Linked DNA regions of Homo sapiens: region 2 is linked to region 1. Evidence: promoter capture Hi-C in 16 types of primary human blood cells and fetal thymus (Javierre and others, 2016). All regions are on one chromosome and are shown on one strand. Each heading gives the region's core, a stretch centred on a gene start or on the middle of the fragment in contact. The rest is flanking DNA. Distances are from core to core; before and after follow the strand shown.

Region 1 (6,693 bases), core at 3,045-5,544:
CCTCTCATAGCAGGTTGTGATAATTACAGCACTCAGCACAGTTGTCTCATATGAACCTCGTCCACATGAGTGTCAAAGGAACTGTGCATTTTACAATGCTGATTCCCCCATTCTTCCACTTGGAATGACTGCATCCCAGCATTCCTCTCATTTTAACAAGTTCTTTTCACTCTCCTCTATGGATTCATACCTTTGTTGGTACTATATTAACAGGCCCCTCTTTACTCAAGCCATTTTTATCAGTACATGTAGCCTTTCTCTTGATCTAGACAGGATTAATGTCAATTTTTCTGTGTGCTCATTCTTCTCCATCCCTAGAAAGCAAGGTGCTCTGTGTGGTAGGGTTTAATAACACAGGGCCGTATCATCCATCACTGTCTGAGTTCTTCACAATTACGACATGCATCTCAGAAAAATGCCTTGAGAAGTCTAGATGGAAACCAATGCCCCATGGAAACACATGAATATTTTATCAGGCTCTGAACAAGACTCTTGCTCATGAATGTTTAAACCCCTCAGTAGCATAATGCTCAGAAGCTGATTAGAGTCAACTTGTGCTGGGATGGGGAAGCTGAGAGGAGGAGGGAAATACAACAGTGATGGCAGCAGGCATTCCACAGTGTCTCTTTCAAGGATTTAAAGCACTTAAGAGTGCACTGGAGGGCTCGCTAATTTGTTAGACACTCATTTTCCAAGTGCTTTCCCTCTAAAGTGGGAAGCAGGTCAGCTCCCAGCAGAGCTGTCTAGAGAGAGCACTGGCTGGGGTACATGCAAGCTGCTACATCAGTCACAGCCCCCATAACCTTGCCATACTTCTCTCTGCATTGGTGGCACAAGGAAGATTTTCATATAAAGTAGAGAAGACTCAAGATGAGGCAGACCCTTTATAGGTTCACAGCAGCTTTGTTCAAAATTGCCACAAACTGGCAACAACCAAGTATCTATCAACAAGAGAACAGATAAACACATGGTCAATATTCATACAATAAATACTACCTTGGAAAAAAAAGAAATGAACTACTGATACACACAATGGCACAGATGAATATCACAGACATTGTGTAGGGCAAAAAGAAGCCAAACACAAGAGTGCATACTGTGTAACTGCAGTTATATGAAATTCAGGAACCAGCAACACTAATCTATGATATTAGAAATCAGAACAAGGTTTGCTGCTTCTGTGGGGTGGAGGTGACTAGAAAGAGACGTGAGGAAAAGTTCTGTGACTGAAATATTTTATGTCTTGTTTGGGATGTGGGTTTGTCAAAACTGGCCAGCTATTAGCATAGGATTCAGCTGAGAAGTGCTGTGAGGATAAAAGAGGCCACTGATCTCCAGGGTCATCATTTACCTATCAAATATTGATTAACTTGAATTATGAATTACCTCAAAGGACTTCTAGTATTTTACCAAGGGTTCTGCCACCCTTATGGGAGTCAATGCCTTATTTGTGTAATTTAGTTACCTAATTAATCCAACAGTTATTTATTAATTGCTCATAATATACCAAATAGGAACACAGCCATAAATAAGACAAAAAAATTCCTTGTCTTGATGGAGTTTACATTAGAGTGGGGAACATGCCCAATTAACAAGGAAACACATATACTATATAGTGTCAGGGAGTGCTAAGTGCCATGAAGAAGGATAAAGCAGGGTCAGAAGACAGGGAGTGACCACAGGCTGTTTTAGATCAGGTGGCCATCATTCTGGAGAGTATGAAAAGAAACTGGAATGAGCTGAGAAAAGAAGCAGTGGCAGTGTCTGAAGGAAGAGTGTTCAGGCAGAGGGAAGAGCAAGGACGATGGTAAGCAAGAGGACGGCCATAGAATATGAGGGCACCAGACCAAATCACAAGCCCTGGTGGAGAGTTGAATGTTATTCACAGTGTGAGGGGAAGCCATTGGAGGGTGTTAAGCAGGAGAGTAATATCATCCAACTGACTGACATTTTAAGAATGGGAAAAAGAAGGCAGTTAAGGGGTCTGCTCAAGATTCTTATGGGAAAGTCAGAAGAATAAGATCCATATTTTTTTCTTAAAATGTTAATATCCTTCACACATCTATATTTGAAACACCTTCTGATTCAAGCTCTGTCCAGGACCAGATCACATATGTCTGGATTCTAAACACTGATTTTTATTAACAAGTTTGTTTTAAGATAATAAGTTTATAAAATGAGAGGTAGAAAACATCTCTGTATGTCTAAAATTTTTCATAATAAAGTACTGGAGAAAAAAAGGTGAGATAGTGATTTGCATCCTTTATCAGGCAAAATTCATCAGCAACTAAACATGAATGTTCTGATTCTCAAGACCTTTGCAAAATAAAGGCTCTGATTTTTTTTTTTCAACTAAATGTAGAACATTTCTTTCAACCCCCAAATCCACCTTTGCAGCCCAAGTCAGTCCACGTTGCACTGTTTCTGCAGCATGTCAGAGCCTCTGGCTTCTTTCCTCTCTCCCCCTTCCCCCAATTAATCTCTGAAACCTACATAAGAATGGAATAAAATGCAAATTCAAGGAGAAGGATGCAGTTTTCAGAGAAGGCCTCATCCTCCTCCTACCCTATAATGGAAATTCCCTTATGGTTAAACAACAAAAATGGAAATATTAAAACCCTCAGCTGAAAACAAACACTTAAGCACCTATTCTCCTTTCCAGAGAATCTGTTTCCCTCAATCATTATTTTTCCACTCTTTTGAGAGCCTTCTAGGCTGAAAGTTGTTTCATCTCACCCATCTTGGGTCTCTCCTAGGTCTCATTTCTGCCTTCACCAGGCTTGAAGTTCTATATCCCTAGGCTATCAGAACTTTGACTCTGACCAGGCTCAATTCTAGACTTTACTGGGGAATGGGGAGAAGCTAAAAGCTGGGGGTGGAAGAGAAGGGGAAACAGAGGGAACATTCCAGAGACAGTAGTGTCCCTGAAGGGGAATTAGGCTGGCAAAATGGGGACCAGAAAGCCACCTCTATTCCTCACAAGGGACACCTAACTCAAGCACAGCCTGCTAAAGCACTTTATTCTCCAGACTCAAATTGCCTTAACCTGTAAGCAAACGCTTCCCCAGCCATTTATCCGCAAGCGCATTTGCCCCACCTGCAGCAATGAAAGAAGCACTGTTTTTGCAAGCCGGGCTGCTACCCAGACTGCGAGGAGACATTCTGTGCAGAATTCAGCCACTGGTGGAGAAAAAGAAGTTTTTCTTTGCAGGCCTTGCTGCCTAATACAACTATATCAACAATTTCTCCCGCTGTGTAAGCCCCATCTGAAAATCTTTCCCTTTTATCTAGGATGCAAAAATGTAATGTTATCCTCCATATTCTGGTTTAAAGAACTACACCAGGAAAGACATTTTATGATAGGCTAGGGCATCATTTACCTCTAATTCAAGCATGCATGTACCTAGAAAACTAACAAAGGGGTAAGTTATGCCATGCCATGACTTCTCTTCCCAGATTTCTATCCTGAAATCTTAACAAAATTCGATTTTAAAAACCTCAAGGTTTGTATTCTTCACGAGTACATGGATACCTTGAGTTCTACCTAGAGGCCTCTAGTTTCTGACAGAGCTAACTTGGAAAGGGCTGCTTGCCAGGGTACAAGGATGTTGCAGCTTCCAGGTGACTCCCTCATGCCCAGAAGCAAGGCAGTTCAACAGACGCAGTGCAATACAATTGTCCCTTTTCAGGACTTTGCAATCTCCATGGGGGAGCCCATCGTGCCCGCCACTCTACACCCTGGGGGTGAACATGCCCTGCAAAGCAGATTCGGCGTGAGGAGACTCTGGAAAGTCTACAGGCGGTGGGAAACTGTTTCGGGATCTCTCATTTTCAGCACAGCCGGTCGCTTATTCAGCAGAAAACCCACGGCCCCATCTTCACACCAAATTACAGTACTCTCCCGTCTCTTCCACTGAAATTGCCACTCGCATCCCTGATGCGTGACCCCTGCTCACCTCAAGTTCCTATGAGAGTTTCTTTACCGGTTCCAAACAAACTGCCCAGATTCTGGAAAGGGAGAGAAAGCCCCTCCCCCTTTCCACTTTCACTTAATAATTAAGTGTTTGAAGTTTTGTGGATCCTTAAGGTCGCTGTGCTCACCTCATCAGCGTCGGACCGCCGAGAAGCGCCAAGCCCGCTGCTATGTGCAGGACGCCCACGGTCCCCCGGCGTCTCGCGCGTTCGCGGGGCTGGAAGGGGCGGGAAGGGGCGGGCCGGGGCAGAGACAGGGGCCCGCGCCCATCGCCGCGCCGGGAGCCTGGCGTGGAGGCGGCGGGACGGCGGCGCAGGCCTCTGAGGTGTGCGCGGGGCGCCGGGCGCCTCTGGCCGGGGCACTGGCTGAGCCACGCCTGCCCGCCCCTCCCTGGCGCCGCCCGCGTGGCGCGCCTCGACCCTGCTCTCCCGCGAGGGCCGGGAGGGCTCCGGGACCTTGCAGACTCCACGCGCCTCACGGCTCCTCCAGCTCCTCGGATCTTTCTCCTTGCGTCGCCGCCGAGTCCCCTGGGGCGGCCCCGCCTCCGGCCGTCTCCTCAGAGACCTTCCCTGGGGGGCGCCTTCCCCTCAGCGCCCCTTCCCGGGCCTCGAGCCAGCGGCTGCCGCAGGAGCTGGCCCCGGGGCGAGGAGCTTCAGATTCAGGTCCCTAGCCGGCCTCGGTAAGGAGACTGGAAGGATTCTCCGCGAATGCTCATTTTTATTTCTGGAGTGGCGTCGGAGTTACCAATTAGTTTTCTTATTTTATACTCTCTGGAGTTGCCAAATTCTTTACGTTGAGCTTTTGCTTATTTTATAATCAGAAAGACAAGTACGTTTCTTTTTCCAAGAATGCTTACAGGAGGCCACAAACAAGATGTTCGCACCCAGCCCACTGTCTTCCGCTTAAAAATATGTGTGAGATGTTGTGTTTAAGACACCCTCAAGGAGAAACATAGAGGGGAGACCTGGAAATGGTCTTGGGAATCCACTTAGACTTTCCATATTATATTTGTTTCATTTATTTTAAAATCTCAGACCTATTTATGTGCATTAGGACATTCCACATTTTTACAACTGCGCAGAGGAAATCTTTGGTTGTAGAGGACGGGAAGAGAGAGGCCAGGTCCGCAGACCCCACTGTGACAAGACAGTGGCTACATTCTTAACTGTTTTACACATTGTGATACCCAAAGACTTCTTTTCACAGGATTCTACTGAGGGGGAAAACAAGAGGAAGAAAGAAAGATAGACAAGGTTTTCCTCAAGGCAGTAAGCAAAAAGCTGGTTTCTCAGAAGAAAGAATTATGTCTGAGATTTTACCCAGGACTCTCCAGATCTCTCATTCTACACAGAAGGACCCTTTCATTTGGAACGTGCAGAAACTGAGGAGGACCATCTCTCTCCTCCATGGGGGCTGCCTGAGTTAAAAAGGCCTGGGTCCATCTTTTTTCCGTAGGAGAGCTGACTTCAGAGTCTAGAGCCAAATCTTCACTTCTGTGGCTCTAGATTGAGGATTTGCCCTTCTGATCTCTGTGGGGCTTTTTTTTTTTAACCTGGGAATTCCCCTGGGCTCTTCGGCTGTTATTCTCATCAACCCCTCTCTATATTCTGCAAGACATTGAAATCTTTCTCCCAGCTTGGCCCCCACCTCCAATCCCAGTATTCTCTTTTCTGAGATTGGAGTATTTCCAACCCCTCAGTTGCCAGGCACTGAAGGTTTTCATCTTCCAGGCCTGCCATGTTTACCTCTGAGATGTTTCTGGCAACTGTCCACTTCTCTGCATTCTCACACTGCTGCTCTTGATAAGCTTCGATTATCTGGGGCTGAATTGTTTCAATAATTTCCTAACTGATTTTCTTGCCTCCTATCTGTCCCCACCACCAACATAGACTTAAGAATGTCACTCTCTTGACAAAACAAGCCAACATCCTCTATCCTCTGTCCCACTCCCAAACCTGCAGTAACTTTCCTGTGCAATTGTAATACAGTGTAAACTTTCATAAGGATGGGGAGTGGCCAAGATGGCTGACCAGAAGCAGGTAATGTACATGGCTCTCACGGAGAGGAACAGAAGGGACGAGTAGATACAACACCTTCAACTGAAACATCCGGGTACTCGCATTGGGATTAATCAAGGAAACAACCTGACCCACAGAGAACAAGGAAAAGCAAGACAGGACAACAGCCCACCTGGGAGCAACAGGGAACCAGGGGATCTTCCCCTGCCCAGGGAAGTGGTAAGTGAATGAGCGACCCCGGAAACCATGCTTCTCCCACAGATCTTTGCAACCCTCCTGTCAGGAGATCTCCTTGTGAATCCACTCCACTAGCAGCAGGGCCTTCAGTCTTCAGTCTGGCAGACAGGGCTACATGGAGTCTCAGCAAAGCAGCCACTCAGGCATGCGTGGAGACCCTGGAGGCTTAGATACTTGGGCGTTCTGGCAAAAGTAGCTGCATCTCCCACAAAGAGGGAGTTTAGACTCCCATTCATACCCCTAAGAAAGAGGCTGAATCCAGAGGGCTGAGCAGCAACAGCCCGCAGGGCCCACTTCCACAACACCTCACACAAGACAGGACCCACTGGCTTGGAATTCCACCCAGCTACCAGTAGCAACATAGCACCTGCCTAAGTAGGAGCTCCCAGGGGAGGGGTAGGCCAACATCTTTGCTGTTCAGGAGCTTTAGCTGTTCCAGCCTTCAGGGTTTGGAGAGTCTGAGAC
Region 2 (6,693 bases), core at 2,438-4,937, 230 kb before region 1:
AAAGCCTCATCCTAGAAAACTAAGATTTATGATCTATCCTCAAGCAACTAGTACATAAAATAGCATCTGTGTGCTATAGAATATGGTACATAACAAATAAGTGTTTTCCAATTAATTTATTCAACAAATAGTTGTGTAACATTTACTATATGTCAAGCACTATGCTGAGCAATGGAACAGAATGATGAGCAAAACCAAGTTTAAACTCCATTAGGGAAGACAAACTAATATATGTCAAGTGGTAATAAATACAATATTTTAAAAACAAAGCAACATAACTGGTAGGGTATTTGTTGACTGGGAAAGGACACATGAAAGCCTTCTGGAATAATGATGAAGATGTTCTGTACTTAACTTGATCTGGGTGTTGTATTCACTGAGCAGTACACTTAGGCTTTATGCAATCTGCTGTATATGTTCTACCTCCAAGTGTTTTTTAAGCCTGTTAAAAGCAACACCTAGAATATCAATGCTGTCCAGCTCTAATGATGATTTCCTCTTGATTACCACAATTGTTAATACACTTCCAAATATATGAACTACGTATCTTCACAGTTCTTCACAGAACTATGTAAATACAATTACAATGTCTAGAACCGTTAAAGCCAATCATTTAGTAAGCATCAACTGGCTACAGATAAGGTAAAAGAAAACCAAACTCTTACCTCAACTTATAGGAAAAGATAAAAACAGAATGATGCTAAAAAGGAGTCCTACAACTACTCATAATAAATATAGAATGTGATATAAGTGCCTTTTAAAAATAAACCTACCTTTAACCATTTAGTATTTCCTCATTTCCTCCTCTGTTCCAAAACTCCAGAGTTTCTCTTAGAGGGGAACAAAAGGAATGCAAGAACTGTGCATTCAAATTGTTCCAAGACTCATACAAAGTCTAGCATAGTCACTAAGAGCATAAACTCTGGAGCCAGACAGCCTGGGTTAAATACTGGCTCTGCCACTTACTAACTGTATTACTTTAGCCAAGTTTATTTATTTCAGTTCCCTGTGCCTCAGGCTCCTCATCTGTTAAGCAGGGATAATAGAATCTTATCTCATTGGGTTGTTATGAAGACTAAATGAGTTAATTTATGTACTGTGCTTAGAACAGTAGTTGGCACATAAAAAATGCACTAGATAGGTGTTTATTACTGCTGCTACTGCTGCTACTAGGAGTCCTACCAGAATTGGCACCTAGGTACCACAAACAGGCAAATTAATCCAGTTAAGAAAAGGTATGGATCCTAACAGCTAATGTCATTGGTAACACTCCATTTCTGCTCCCATTTATACCCAGAATAACAGTACTTTTAGTATGACTCTGCCCTATGTTAATACATCAACTTAGCACATTCCATCTAAATTGTCACTTATATTTGCACTACATAAAACAGATCATATGATGCCTAACCAATGACACAAAACATTCAATGAAAGTCAATCAAATTCCCAAGTACAGAAAAGGGAAAAAATCCCTATACATGTCAAGGGAAAAGTTAGTAGCTAAGGCAAATCTAGTTCCTTTTTAATGGGTTTTGCTAGACAGTCTCAATTTGATGAATGTCCAACCCTCCAAAATGAATCTGTCTCTTCACTTTATCTACATGACAATTCAAATCAACAATTTAATCAGTATCTGTACCTACTATGAATCTAGCATGTCCCTAGATACAATCAGAGAATGTAAAAATTGTATGAGACATAATCCTTGCTCTGACTGACTAGTTAGGAAGAGTCTAACACAAAAGCAATCCATTTATTCAGTCAACAGACACTTCTTGAGGGAATATTCAGTGAATGTGGCTCCAGGCCTGGCCTGGGTGGTTTTAAAATTTACAAAGGAAATACGGTCAAATGGATAAAAGCTGCACAATGTTAAATACAACAAAAGCGGTAGAGGGTATGAAGGAAGCAAGAAAAAGAAAAATCTGGAATGTCAGAAGACTTCCTGGGAAGGTAGCATCTGTATTAGATGTTGAGAGACAGGTAAGTTGACGAGAAAGAGAAGAGAGAACATTTAAGGCAGAGGTAAAAGCATATACTAGAGACAAATCCACATGCCTTCTGAACAGAAGACAAACCCAGAAAGGTAGCCAAAGATCTTACACCATGATAAAGGACTTAAGCTTTATTCTGTAACAAATGAGTAGTAAATAAAAGATTCATATGGGGGGATATATGATCAGACTTCTGAATGTTTACCTGGGGTAGGACAGAAGAATAGACAAGGCTGGAGACAGAAAATAAGTAACAGCCCAAGGGTAGGCAAACCTTTTCTGTAAAAGGCCCGACAGTAAACATTTCGGGCTTTGCAAGCCATACAGTCTCGGTCACAACTACAAAATTCTGCCTTCGTAGCATAAAAATAGCAATAGACAATTAATACATAAACTAATGAGCAAGGCAGCTGCTTTAATCCATTTTGTAGTGCTATGACAGAATACATGAGACTGGGTAATTTATAAAGAAAAGGTTTATTCACCTCACAGTTCTACAGGCTAGGAAATTTAAAGGGCATGGCCCTGGCTTCTGGTGAGGACTTTCATGCTACATCACAAAATGACAAAGAAGCTCAAAGGGGAAGTGGTCAGATGTGAAGACAAAAAATCTGGCGGCATCCTGGCTTTATAACAATCCATTATCTCAGAATTAACCCATTCCCATGAGAACTAATCTAGTACCACCAGAGCAAGAACTCACTCACTGCTACAAAAAGGTACAAAGCCATTCATGAGGGATCCACCCCCCATGAAACAAAACATCTCCCACCAGGCCTCATCTCTTAACACTGCCACATTGATGATCGAAACAAGTTTTAATGCTGAAAAACAAACCATATCTAAACCACAGAAGTTGCATTCTAATAAAACTTGATTTACAAAGACAGACGGCTAGCCGTATTTGGCTTTATGGGCTATAGTTTGCAAACCTCTGGTCTAGGCAGAGTGATAAGGTCCTAAACTAAAGTGAAGGCTCTAGTAAATGAAGAGGAATAGGTTCCAAAGATATTTAGGGGGTAGACTTGAAGAATGACTACTGGTGGAGAACTAGGTGTAAGGAGGAAACAACTTTGGTTCCTGGGAAGGAAGCCAGGGGCGTCTATGGATAATGGTGCCATTTACCAAGATAGAGAGGAAGAAGAAGAATATAGAGGTTTCATTCTGTTTAGGGGAGGAGAGAAGGTCAGGAGAGAAAATGAGTTCAGTTTTAACATGTTCAGTTTAAAGTAGCTGTGGAACATGTAGGTGGTAATTCCTGCAGGTCTAGGATTCTGAAAAGATCTGGGTTAGAGGACTAGATCTGGTCAAAGCAGTAGAATTAATATCTAGTTTTTCATAAACCAGATCACTAGGGTAGAAGGAAGGTAGGCAGAGTATGAACAAATGGCTGAGGTCAAAATATAAACACTTAAACGGGGTAGGTGGCTGGAGAGGTAGAGAAGTGCTCTGCAGGCAAGACTGAGGAAACAATCTGAGAGGCAGAAAAGCAGTTTGAGTGAAGTGTTATGGGTCACTGTAGCTAAATTAAACTACAGGATACAATCATTTTGAGAAGAAATCAGTGGGCCAAACACCAGGTCTAGTAGGGTCTAGGACACTCCAGATGCTGTCTATCAATTTCTTTTTTTTTTTTTTTAATGATGGAGAAAAAAATCAGTGGGCAAGCAAGAGAACAGGACGTTGGGACATAAAACTGAATAGGCTGGTTTACAAAAAAACAGATATTGAAAGAAAGTCAGAAAATTTTAATCAGATGAAAATAGGCAACAGGACAGTTTTCTTAACTAGAATGGGACATAGCTCAACTATTTAATTAGGTAACATAATCTGTACTATGTAGGGAAGCTGTAACACTGAAGGAAATAAAGATAAAATAGCTGTTAAAGATATAGCACAGCCACTCAGTAGACTGGATTTACTTTATCATGAATAAAGGTTTTTTAAAAGTACACAATTAATTATAAAAAGCACTATACTGGGTCAGGCGCGGTGGCTCACGCCTGCAATCCCAGCAATTTGGAAGGCTGAGGCGGGTGTATCACCTGAGGTCAGGACTTTGAGACCAGCCTGGCCAACATGGCAAAACCCCATCTCTACGAAAAATACAAAAATTAGCCAGGTGTGGTGGTGGGCATCTGTAATCCCAGCTACTCAGGAGGCTGAGGCACGAGAATCACTTGAACCCAAGAGGCGGAGGTCACAGTGAGCAGAGATCATGCCACTGCACTCCAGCCCGGGCGACAGAGTGAGACTCTATCTCAAAAAAAAAAAAAAAAGATATGAGTAATTTGGTATGACTGCAGATATGAAGAGACTTGCAAATAGGAAGTATTTTGAAAAAAGCAATGAAACCTTTAATAATTTGTTAAATCATTCCTGAATTTAACAACAAGGTCTTTTTACTAAACCAGCTATCAACAAAAGTAAAAACTGTTTTTGTGGCATTTAAAACCAGTGAAAATTCCTGTGTGGGTTTAGCAGCATTAAACTTTAAACACCATTAACACATCCTGAGAAATTCACAGAAGGAAAGAGTTCACTATTTTTAAACATACTAAATGTGCCTCTTCTTTATAAACGGGATCTGTGGGTGTTAGAGAAGTTCAATAAAGAGGGCTACCCCAGAAAACAGGATTTTCCATCCATTGATGTTTTACTATATAAAAAAGGTGCAAATTTTCAACAGGGCTCTAAAATGTTTAAAAGAATAGTACAATTTATTTGACAGAAGGAAGAAAATGACTAAATTGATGGTTGTCAAATGTCTTAGATAATTTCATTCTCTGTCTTTTAAGAGCACAAGTCTCATAAAAAGGTGAAAATAGGCTTTCTCAGACCAGGCACAAACCCTAACTTCCTGCCCTCCAAGTACTGCCATGGGTTAAATTACAGGTTACCGAGTAGTTCTGATACTAAGGCTGAAAGATTCATGAGCCTCACCAGGTTATGTTAATTTCCTGTCCTAAAATAGCTAGTCCACAGTAACCCCCAACGCACCCCAAGTAAAATATCCCATATGGTAATTCTAGGTTATTTTTTACCTCTCATTTTTAAACACATTAACCTTCCCTAAACCACTGTTAACAATCCATGGACCTACCTCAGAAAAATAAATCTACTTGTTTACATATGCTGCAAATTCTCATTACACTCTCAGACACATAAAATTTGCAATATGACTCTAGTTGACTCTATTCCCTTTTCAAATATAGTAACATCTTTCTAATCAAGAAGACTTCCAAAAACATCAAGCTTAGAAAATCAAAATCCTGGAGGCAGGGAGAAAATAATTATTAACAGCTGTTTACTGAGTAAGTACCTAGTTTGTACCAAGCTATGTTTTTCATGCATTACATCATTTAACCTCAATAGCCGTGTGAGATAGGTACTATTATTATCACCAACTTAAAGATGAAGAAAGCTCTTAGGTAAGTCATTTGTTCAAGGTCAGAGTTCGTAAGTGTTAGAGCTGGGATTCTAAAGCAGTCTAACTACAGAGCTCTACTATAGAGCTCTACATTCTAAGTAAAACAGCAGTAGAAAACTATAGGCCGGGCATGGTGCTCATGCCTGTAATCTCAGCACTTTGGGAGGCCGAGGTGGGTGGATCACCTGAGGTCAGGAGTTCGAGACCAGCCTGGCCAACATGGTGAAACCTCTTCTCTACTAAAAATACAAAAATTAGCCGGGTGTGTTGGCGGGAGCCTGTAATCCCAGCTACTCGGGAGGCTGAGGCAGAAGAATCACTCAAATCTGGGAGGCGGAAGTTGTGGTGAGCCCAGATCGCGCCACTACACTCCAGCCTGGGCGACAGAGTGAGACACTGGCTCAAAAGAAAAAGAAAACTACATCTATCACAGAGTACACTTTACAGATGTAATCCCCAGACCTTCCTTACAATCTAATGATTAAAATCAGTAATTTCATTCAAAGAACAATTCTAACAATTTGGTAATGTGGATTTCCCATTCACAGTTACTTAGCACATTTGTAGTAATAGGGACTACTATTGCTAGGACCAACCACATCAATGAGTTAGTGGGCAAAACACATGTGCACCCACAAGGAAAAGATAAAACTGGCTATTAAAAAGCTACTATATAATTACATTAAACGGCCCCTGAATGGTTTGGCTGTGTCCCACCCAAATCTCATTTTGAATTGTAGCTGCCAAAATTCCTACGTGTTGTGGGAGGGACCCACATTGTATCATGGGGCACATCTTTCCCATACTGTTCTTATGATAGTGAATAAGTCTTATGAGATCTGATGGTTTTATAAGGGGGAGTTTCCCTGCACAAGCTCTCTCTTTGCCTGCTGCCATCCATGTAAGCCGTGACTTGCTCCTCCTTGCTATCCACCATGATTGCGAGGCCTTCCAGTCACGTGGAACTGTGAGTCCATTAAACCTCTTTCCTGTATGAAGTATCCAGTCTCGCGTATGTCTTTATCAGCAGCATGAAAATGAACTAATACAGCCCTGAACTGTTGTATTTTAGAACAGGGCTGTTGCTATTAATATATTCTTTGATACCGGCAGTACAATAACTGATATTCATGGTAGCTGAAATATCATAAAGGTATCAAAAAAGATATTCAGCATTATCTAAAAAATACCTTAGAACAATTTTTACAAAAAGAGCAAACAAGAAGCATAAAAAACATTTCTCTAGAAAGTTCAAGATGATGGTAT

Evidence for each region. Contacts are between HindIII fragments. The CHiCAGO score rates a contact against its expected background, and 5 or more counts as called.
Region 2: a contact is called between a fragment that was not itself captured here and the fragment with the promoter of GPR156 in region 1, in 1 of 17 cell types (neutrophils). The highest score is 5.1, in neutrophils.

The regions. Positions count from the first base shown.
Region 1 is chr3:120,280,928-120,287,620 of GRCh38, forward strand. GPR156 (G protein-coupled receptor 156) reads right to left here and starts at 4,295. Exons shown (of 10, transcript NM_153002.3): 1 at 4,102-4,295. LOC124909418 (a long non-coding RNA gene) reads left to right here and starts at 4,229. Exons shown (of 2, transcript XR_007096029.1): 1 at 4,229-6,210. The HindIII fragment of the contact is 9,811 bases long and covers 1-5,778 here.
Region 2 is chr3:120,047,507-120,054,199 of GRCh38, forward strand. The region is part of intron 1 of GSK3B (glycogen synthase kinase 3 beta); the gene reads right to left. Among named protein-coding and RNA genes, the nearest start is that of MIR6529, 34 kb to the right of the region's middle. The HindIII fragment of the contact is 3,126 bases long and covers 2,125-5,250 here.